Linked DNA regions of Homo sapiens: region 2 is linked to region 1. Evidence: promoter capture Hi-C in 16 types of primary human blood cells and fetal thymus (Javierre and others, 2016). All regions are on one chromosome and are shown on one strand. Each heading gives the region's core, a stretch centred on a gene start or on the middle of the fragment in contact. The rest is flanking DNA. Distances are from core to core; before and after follow the strand shown.

Evidence for each region. The method cuts DNA at HindIII sites, captures the fragments that hold promoters and counts their contacts. A CHiCAGO score of 5 or more calls a contact.
Region 2: a contact is called between a fragment that was not itself captured here and the fragment with the promoter of DENND3 in region 1, in 2 of 17 cell types (neutrophils and monocytes). The highest score is 9.3, in neutrophils.

The regions. Positions count from the first base shown.
Region 1 is chr8:141,127,339-141,130,038 of GRCh38, forward strand. It overlaps DENND3 (DENN domain containing 3), which reads left to right and starts at 1,251. Exons shown (of 23, transcript NM_001352890.3): 1 at 1,251-1,471. The coding sequence starts at 1,370. DENND3-AS1 (DENND3 antisense RNA 1) reads right to left here. Exons shown (of 2, transcript NR_183310.1): 1 at 2,686-2,700. RefSeq lists enhancers at 1-678, 1,512-2,342 and a silencer at 797-1,656. The HindIII fragment of the contact is 7,380 bases long and covers 1-2,700 here.
Region 2 is chr8:141,257,166-141,263,026 of GRCh38, forward strand. All of the region lies in intron 1 of SLC45A4 (solute carrier family 45 member 4), which reads right to left. Among named protein-coding and RNA genes, the nearest start is that of SLC45A4-AS1, 5.5 kb to the left of the region's middle. RefSeq lists an enhancer at 1,087-1,608. The HindIII fragment of the contact is 2,339 bases long and covers 803-3,141 here.

The DNA.
Region 1 (2,700 bases), core at 1-2,500:
CCTCAGCTCACCGATGAGAGCCACCGATGGTAGGCAGCCTCCAGGCCTGGGGGAGAACCAGCAGATCCTCACCATCTTTAGGTTAATAAGTGAAATAAAACCTGTGAGTCAGGCTGCAGTCACGGCCTCACCCGGCTCAGGGAAGGAGGGAGAAATTCCTCAGGGCTCCCTTTTCTGATGTTGCCTTGCTTTGTACTTACTGTTCCTTTTCCTGTTCAGCTGATGACAGATGTTTGACATTAAGCATTTTAGAGTTTTGTTTTTTAGAAAATAGAATCATAGATTATCAGAAGTGGAAGTCCCTTTGGAATAATTTCCCCTGGGTTACACAGATGGCTATGGCAGGGTCAAGGGAGGGGACGGTCAGCGGGGACTGAGCGCAGGCCCCCTCCAGGCTCTGCAGCAATGACCAGGCAGCAAGCCGGCCTCCCGGGCTTGTGGGCTGTCCTCTTTCTCTGGGGTCAGCCTGAGGCTGGAAGAGGCCCGTGGCCCACCGGGCATCAGGCCAAGCCTGGAGCTGACCAGGGAAGGGCCCTGCCAGGCCTTGGGCCTCTGACCCTCAGTCCTGAAGCCTCCCTCTAGCGGCGCCCACCCTGCTCCTTTTCCTGCTGAATTTTACTCAAGTCCGTACTTGAGTATGGCCGGCCCTAGGTTAACCCCGCAGAGTTATTAACCAGGAGTGGCTCTTTCCACCCCCCCTTCCCGCCGGCCCTTCCTGCTGTCCACACCCGGCCAACTCCACTGTCCTGGCAAGGGAGGGCTTCCTGGAGGCGGCAGCGGGCGGCGCGTCCGGCCTTTGTCCCCCCACGCTCTCCAGGGTAGGTCCAGGGACTGCCAGATCAGGGGACCCTTTGCGTCCTGGAGCCTTGGGGGCTGGATGACGTCGCCGGGCACCTGAGGACCCCGCCCATTCCTCCCTCGGTTCCCCAGGGAGCGGGCGGCCGGCGGGGCTGGGCGGGGCCGAAGGAAGGGGCCGCTTGCTCCGACGCCGCGCACGCGCCAGGGCCCGCAGGCGGGTTAGGAAATGACGACCGCGCGCGGGTCTCCAGCAGCACCCGCCCTAGGACCGGCCCCGCCCCCAAGTCCCGGTCCCTAGGGCCGGGCACGCCACTCCAGGCCCCGCCCAGAACCTCCCCGCCCAGTCAAGCCCCGCCCCCAAACTCTGTCTCCCCGCGGTATCCTCTGGGGCTCTCCAGGCCCCGCCTCGGCTCGGGCCCCGCCCCTCCAGGCCCCGCCTCCAGCCCCGCCCCGCAGACGGCGCTCGCAGCGCCCCCGGCCCCCAGGCGGCGCGGCTGGTCCCCAGGGGTCTGCGGGCGACTGCGCGGCTGAGGCGCCCGAGTGCGGTACTGGCGGCGGGCGGCGGGCAGCCATGGCGGAGGCCGCGTCGCCGCACTTGTCGCTGCCCTCGGGGCTGCTGGAGCTCTGCGCGCTGCTGGGCGCCCCCCGGGACAGTCTCCGAAGTCTCGAGCAGGTGAGGGGCGGGGAAACTGAGGCGGACGTGGGCCACGAGTCGGCAGCCGGGACAGCAGTCGGAGAGCGGGCGCCCGGGTGCCCTGTGGGTTGGCGCGGACTTTCCGAGGGCTGAGTCCCGGTCCCCCGGCGGTGACCCCGCGCGCCTGTGGCCGGGGATCGCGCCCGAGCTCAGGCAGGTGCCCTGGAGCAGCGCCCTGCTCCCCTCCCCTCTTCTCTCCTCTCCCCGCCCGGGGCCCTTGGTGTGAGACATGTCTTTTGAGAGCTGCGAACTTGGTCCGCCGGCCGGGAATCTGGGGGTGCCGCCCCTCGGAGAGTCTCTGGGGCCTCTCTCTTCAGTCGCTCCCATCTTGGGCAGGTGCTTCTGAAGGTGGGGTGCACCAGACAACGGGCGGAAGCCGCCGGAGCCTCACGGTCTAGCGGGCCCAGCCCTCGCTGCTGAAATGATTTCATTCTTTATGCTGGGATGTGTTGTCCCCTGAGTAGTGGGTTTTGCACCAGGCACAGAATAACGAGAGAGCAATCTTAGAGTTAGCCGCCGGCCTCGCGTATTCTGCATGAACCCCTTTGCGATGAAGCCTATAGCTATTTTTCTCCCTTGCGGTACCACCCCCACCCCCAACCCTTCCTCCATCTCTGCACCCTCGCAGCCAAAGTGACAACTTCATCTCCCTTCTGCTGGGAAAGCGGCAGTTTTGGAAATTCTCGTTTTCCTTTTTCTTCCCCAGCTTTTCTTAATTCTGTAACGCTGGCTTTCCCTGGAATCCATCTGTGTCTCTGGTTTCCTCCTGGTCCGCCTGTCTGTGACACCGTGACTGGGTCATGTTACCTAGAGATCCCGGCGTCACTGGCCAGCCGTCTGCACAGGTCCGTTCATCTCTTTGCAGACAACAGCATAGAAAGGCAGAGAGGCTTCTGAGTATTTAAATGACGCTGGGCTATCCAGGGAAAATGAAGACTGCAGGGCAGAGGGTGTCACCAGGAAAGGCAGATGTTCCTGCAAGTAACCAGATGAATGTCTGTGAGTGTCCGGGGAGTTTCCCCTGCTGGGCGTCAGTACCAAGCCAGTTTCGACTTCAGTGAAAAAGCATTCTCCTATGGAAATAGTTTCCTCGTTTCCCTCAACTTTTCCTTCCCTTCAACGCCCTGTCATGTCAGTAGATCCCGTTTGACCTCTGTCTCCTCGCAACGTCATCGATTGATTTGTCTCCCTACCTCGAATTTGCCAGA
Region 2 (5,861 bases), core at 722-3,221, 130 kb after region 1:
CATATGCAAAGTAAACAGAATAGTGTAAGAAACCACCCAGGTTTAATAAGGACCAACATTCTGCTATTCTTGTTCCGCCCCCACCTTTTCGGAATCATTCCTAACAGAAAATTTCACGATTTTCCCTGTTTTCAGTCTGTCAATCTTGTACCAGAATAGGGTCAATGATTTTAACTGCTTTCTTCCACCAGGTAAGAAGAGTCATTTTTGTGAGAAGAAGTAACACCCAGACATGTCTGCAAAGACTGAAAACATCAGCTGGGTTTTGGGCAGGAACAAAAGCAATTAGTTTTCTAAGAAATCCTAATGACTTAATTATAAACATCAGACCCTTCATGCCTGCTCAATCGGCTCTTTGTCCCATTACAGTGTCCTCGGAGACTTGTGCCTGAAGTGAAGCCGTCTCTGTTCCTAAGAGTCGTTCCAGTAAGAGCTGAGAGTTAGGCAATAAATGTCTGTAATAAGTAATATATGAATTATTCTAAGGTAGTGATTCTCAGCCAGGGGCAACTCTGCACCCTCCAGGGACACTTGGCAATGACGTGAGACATCTCTGCTTGCGACAACAGGGGGAGGAGGGGACAGTACTGGCATCTTATAGGCGGAGGCCAGGGATGCCTTTCAACTCACCACAGTGCACAGAACAGCCTCCAGCAGAGAAGGCCCTGGCCCAGAACGTCAACAGCACCAGAGGGAGACACTCTGTTCTAGGGTTATTACTAAATAGGAAAACGGCTTTCTTTAAAAATGCTTCACCCCTTGATTATTCCATTCCGAGTCCACCGACAAGACCAGACACTGAAGCTTTCTCTGTAAAGCTGGATGATGAACATTTCCGGGATTTCGGGCCACAGATGGTCTCTGTTGTACATTCTCCTTTTTTGTTTCTTCTTCCTTTTTTTTTTTTTTTTTTTTTTAACAATCCTTTAAAAACACAACACCTATTCTTAGCTTGCTGGTCATTCTTGTAAATCCCAGCTCTGCGCTGGATCTGCCCCCTGGGTCACAGTTTGCTGCCCTCCGGCCTGGCCTAGGGTCAGGAAGTCGCCAGAGTCTCTCTAACAGGAAAGAAGGCGACGGTGGAGCCCTGCTTGGCTCCCACACCCCCCAGCCTCACTCTGCTCCGTGCCACCTAAACTGTCCAGTCCTGACTTAAACGACCCGAGGCCAGGAGTGTAGGTGGCAACGCTACAGGCCATTCCTTTCCCAAGCAGCTCAGCTGCGCTCCAGCCAGTGGTATTTCTCAGCACCTTGTTTGCAAAGAGCAGGTTGCATAAGAATCACTGATGAGCCACAGAGAAAAGCCCCAGGCAACCATCGGCCTCTCACATGGAGCATGGACTCCAACCTTGGGGCCACAGGGATGGCCACCAAAAGGTCTCAGGGATCAGCTAAAGACTCATTCAGCCTGTGCAACAGTCAGACCCGTTTTTCAAAGACAGCATGGTGGTGCACACCTGTGATCCCAGCTACTCCAGAGGCTGAGGCAGGAGGATCGCTTGAGCCCAGGAGTTGAAGACCAGCCTGGGCAACACAGCAAGACTCCATCTCTATAATTATTATTATTATTTTTTAATTAGCCAGATGTGATGGTATGTGCCTATAGTCCCATCTACTCAGGAGATTGAGGCAGAAGGATTGTTTGAGCCCAGGAGTTCAAGGCTGAAGTAAGCTACAATTATGCCATTGAACTCCAGTCTGCGAGACACAGTGAGACCTCTTTTTTTTAAAAAAAAAAAAAACAGACTCTAAAACAAGATGTCTTTTTACCTGGGAATAGCTGAGGATTTCAAAAAACTAAGCCCTCAGGGAGCAAAGGCCCTGTGTCCTTAGTAACAGAGTCACAAGTCCACAGAAGGACAGAGTGGTGCAGGAGCGCTCCCTTGACATGGAAAGTCAGCTGCCTCACTGGAGTTCCTCTGACATGTTGGGGCTTTCCTAGCAAACTTCTAACAACTGGTGTAAAGTTGGCCTTCCAAAGAGAAGATGAAAAGGAGGGAGACCAGCATCTGGGTGGGAAAGGCATCTAGCCCACACTCCCAGAGTATCCGCATGGCCACGGTCAGGGCAAGCCGCCAGACACCGCTGCTCAGCAGGCTGAGGGGCCAGCAAGACGGCTTCACGCCTTGGGACACTGCTGACCCAGCCCGCCAGTGATGGCGCTGCACGTTCAGCCGTGCACACAGGCCCCACCTCAGGCCCCCCAGCTCCAGAACCATGCCTGGGCAGTGCTGCCCATTGGTCGAGGGATCACCCTTCGGAGCAGGCTGCCTCTCCGCCAGCCTGCACCCTTCCGTCTCTCCCCTGAGCTTGGCTCTGCCCACACCACCGGCCATGCATCTCCCTTGCCCTTCCCATGCATCTCCTCTTGCATCTCCTCCCGTGCATCTCCTCTTGCCCTTCCCACCTTCAGCTCAACCACCCTGTTTTTAGAGACTCTTCTCAGGGCTCACTGGACCCCTTTAGAACGGGTGATCCCCATCTTGCACAAAGGATTATGACAGCTACTGGTAGGTGGCAAAACCCTGCCAAGCAGTGAGAGAAGCCCCCTCAAGAGACCCTCATCCCCCGCTTTCATCTGTCCCCAGATCTCCCAGCATCGGTCCACAATGGGCAACGTCCATGCTTCTTGAACCTGGGCTTTCCCTTCCATATGCACCGTTTCCAGCCACACAGCAAGAGCTTGACAAGATTTGTTAAATGAACAAATGAAGCGAATGAATGAATAAGGCTGATCAGCTGATAGTTACTATGGGGTATCTGCACTGGAAAACCATTCCCCACCCCACCAGCTATGCTGAAGTCACGCCCAGGTGCCCCGGGTGACCAGCCACCGGCTTATGCGTCCCTGAAGTCCTCATGAAACAGCATGAGCATGGCACCGGTGTCACCTGTTACGCAAGTAGTCTACGCATGGACACAGCTGGCTTCCCTTCCTCAAGCAGGGCAGAGGCAGGGGCACAGTACACGGATTTTACACAGGTGACCTCACTGGCATCTATATTGATGAAAACAACAAATATCTTTAGACATCTTGAGTTTGTTTAAAGTAGCAGTAAGTACAAAAATCTACCAAATGTCTCATACCTTCATGAACTTATCCAAGGAATGTTATCAACCTAGGGTGTTAACACCAATGCAAGCTTCCGAGCTTCTAAGAGCAGGCAAAGTTGAGGCAACTGTCCAAACAGTAATCTTAACAAGGCTAAATTAACCACTACAACAACATCACCTCATGTTAACCAACCTTAATTTCCTCAAAGATATGCACCCATTGGACTAACCCAGTTTTAAAGTGAGTATCTTGAAGACAACACCCAACAGCTCACAGCAGGATGCCACCTGGTGCAGCTGCTGCTTCCAAACATTTTATTTCTGCAAAGCCCTGGGGATTCTGTAAGCACTTTAGGGGAAGTCAGAAAATAATTTAAAAATAAAGTTTAAAACTAGAAAATCTAGAAGAAATGGATAAATTCCTCGACACATACACCCTCCCAAGACTAAATCAGGAAGAAGTTGAATCTCTGAATAGACCAATAACAGGCTCCGAAATTGTGGCAATAATCAATAGCTTACCAACCAAAAAAAGTCCAGGACCAGATGGATTCACAACCGAATTCTACCAGAGGTACAAGGAGGAGCTGGTACCATTCCTTCTGAAACTATTCCAATCAATAGAAAAAGAGGGAATCCTCCCTAACTCATTTTATGAGGCCAGCATCATCCTGATACCAAAGCCTGGCAGAGACAGAACCAAAAAAGAGAATTTTAGACCAATATCCTTGATGAACATTGATGCAAAAATCCTCAATAAAATACTGGCAAACCGAATCCAGCAGCACATCAAAAAGCTTATCCACCATGATCAAGTGGGCTTCATCCCTGAGATGCAAGGCTGGTTCAACACTCGCAAATCAATAAATGTAATCCAGCGTATAAACACAACCAAAGACAAAAACCACATGATTATCTCAATAGACGCAGAAAAGGCCTTTGACAAAATTCAACAACCCTTCATGCTAAAAGCTCTCAATAAATTAGGTATTGATGGGACGTATCTCAAAATAAGAGCTATCTATGACAGACCCACAGCCAATATCATACTGAATGGGCAAAAACTGGAAGCATTCCCTTTGAAAACTGGCACAAGACAGGGATGCCCTCTCTCACCACTCCTATTCAACATAGTGTTGGAAGTTCTGGCCAGGGCAATTAGGCAGAAGAAGGAAATAAAGGGTATTCAATTAGGAAAAGAGGAAGTCAAATTGTCCCTGTTTGCAGATGACATGATTGTATATCTAGAAAACCCCATCGTCTCAGCCCAAAATCTCCTTAAGCTGATAAGCAACTTCAGCAAAGTCTCAGGATACAAAATCAATGTAGAAAAATCACAAGCATTCTTATACACCAATAACAGACAAACAGAGAGCCAAATCATGAGTGACCCCCCATTCATAATTGCTTCAAAGAGAATAAAATACCTAGGAATCCAACTTACAAGGGATGTGAAGGACCTCTTCAAGGAGAACTACAAACCACTGCTCAATGAAATAAAAGAGGATACAAACAAATGGAAGAACATTCCATGCTCATGGGTAGGAAGAATCAATATCATGAAAATGGCCACACTGCCCAAGGTAATTTATAGATTCAATGCCATCCCCATCAAGCTACCAATGACTTTCTTCACATAACTGGAAAAAACTACTTTAAAGTTCATATGGAACCAATAAAGAGCCTGCATCGCATCCTAAGCCAAAAGAACAAAGCTGGAGGCATCACGCTACCTGACTTCAAACTATACTACAAGGCTACAGTAACCAAAACAGCATGGTACTGGTACCAAAACAGAGATATAGATCAATGGAACAGAACAGAGCCCTCAGAAACAATGCCACATATCTACAACCATCTAATCTTTGACAAACCTGACAAAAACAAGAAATTGGGAAAGGATTCCCTATTTAATAAATGGTGCTGGGAAAACTGGCTAGCCATATGTAGAAAGCTGAAACTGGATCCCTTCCTTACACCTTATACAAAAATTAATTCAAGATGGATTAAAGACTTACATGTTAGACCTAAAACCATAAAAACCCTAGAAGAAAACCTAGGCAATACCATTCAGGACATAGGCATGGGCAAGGACTTCATGTCTAAAACACCAAAAGCAATGGCAACAAAAGCCAAAATTGACAAATGGGATCTAATTAAACTAAAGAGCTTCTGCACAGCAAAAGAAACTACCATCAGAGTGAACAGGCAACCTACAAAATGGGAGAAAATTTTCACAACCTACTCATCTGACAAAGGGCTAATATCCAGAATCTACAATGAACTCAAACAAATTTACAAGAAAAAAAACAACCCCATCAAAAAGTGGGTGAAGGATATGAACAGACACTTCTCAAAAGAAGACATTTATGCAGCCAAAAAACACATGAAAAAATGCTCATCATCACTGGCCATCAGAGAAATGCAAATCAAAACCACAATGAGATACCATCTCACACCAGTTAGAATGGCAATCATTAAAAAGTCAGAAACAACAGGTACTGGAGAGGATGTGGAGAAATAGGAACACTTTTACACTGTTGGTGGGACTGTAAACTAGTTCAACCATTGTGGAAGTCAGTGTGGCGATTCCTCAGGGATCTAGAACTAGAAATACCATTTGACCCAGCCATCCCATTACTGGGTATATACCCAAAGGACTATAAATCATGCTGCTATAAAGACACATGCACACATATGTTTATTGCAGCACTATTCACAATAGCAAAGACTTGGAACCAACCTAAATGTCCAACAATGATAGACTGGATTAAGAAAATGTGGCACATATACACCATGGAATACTA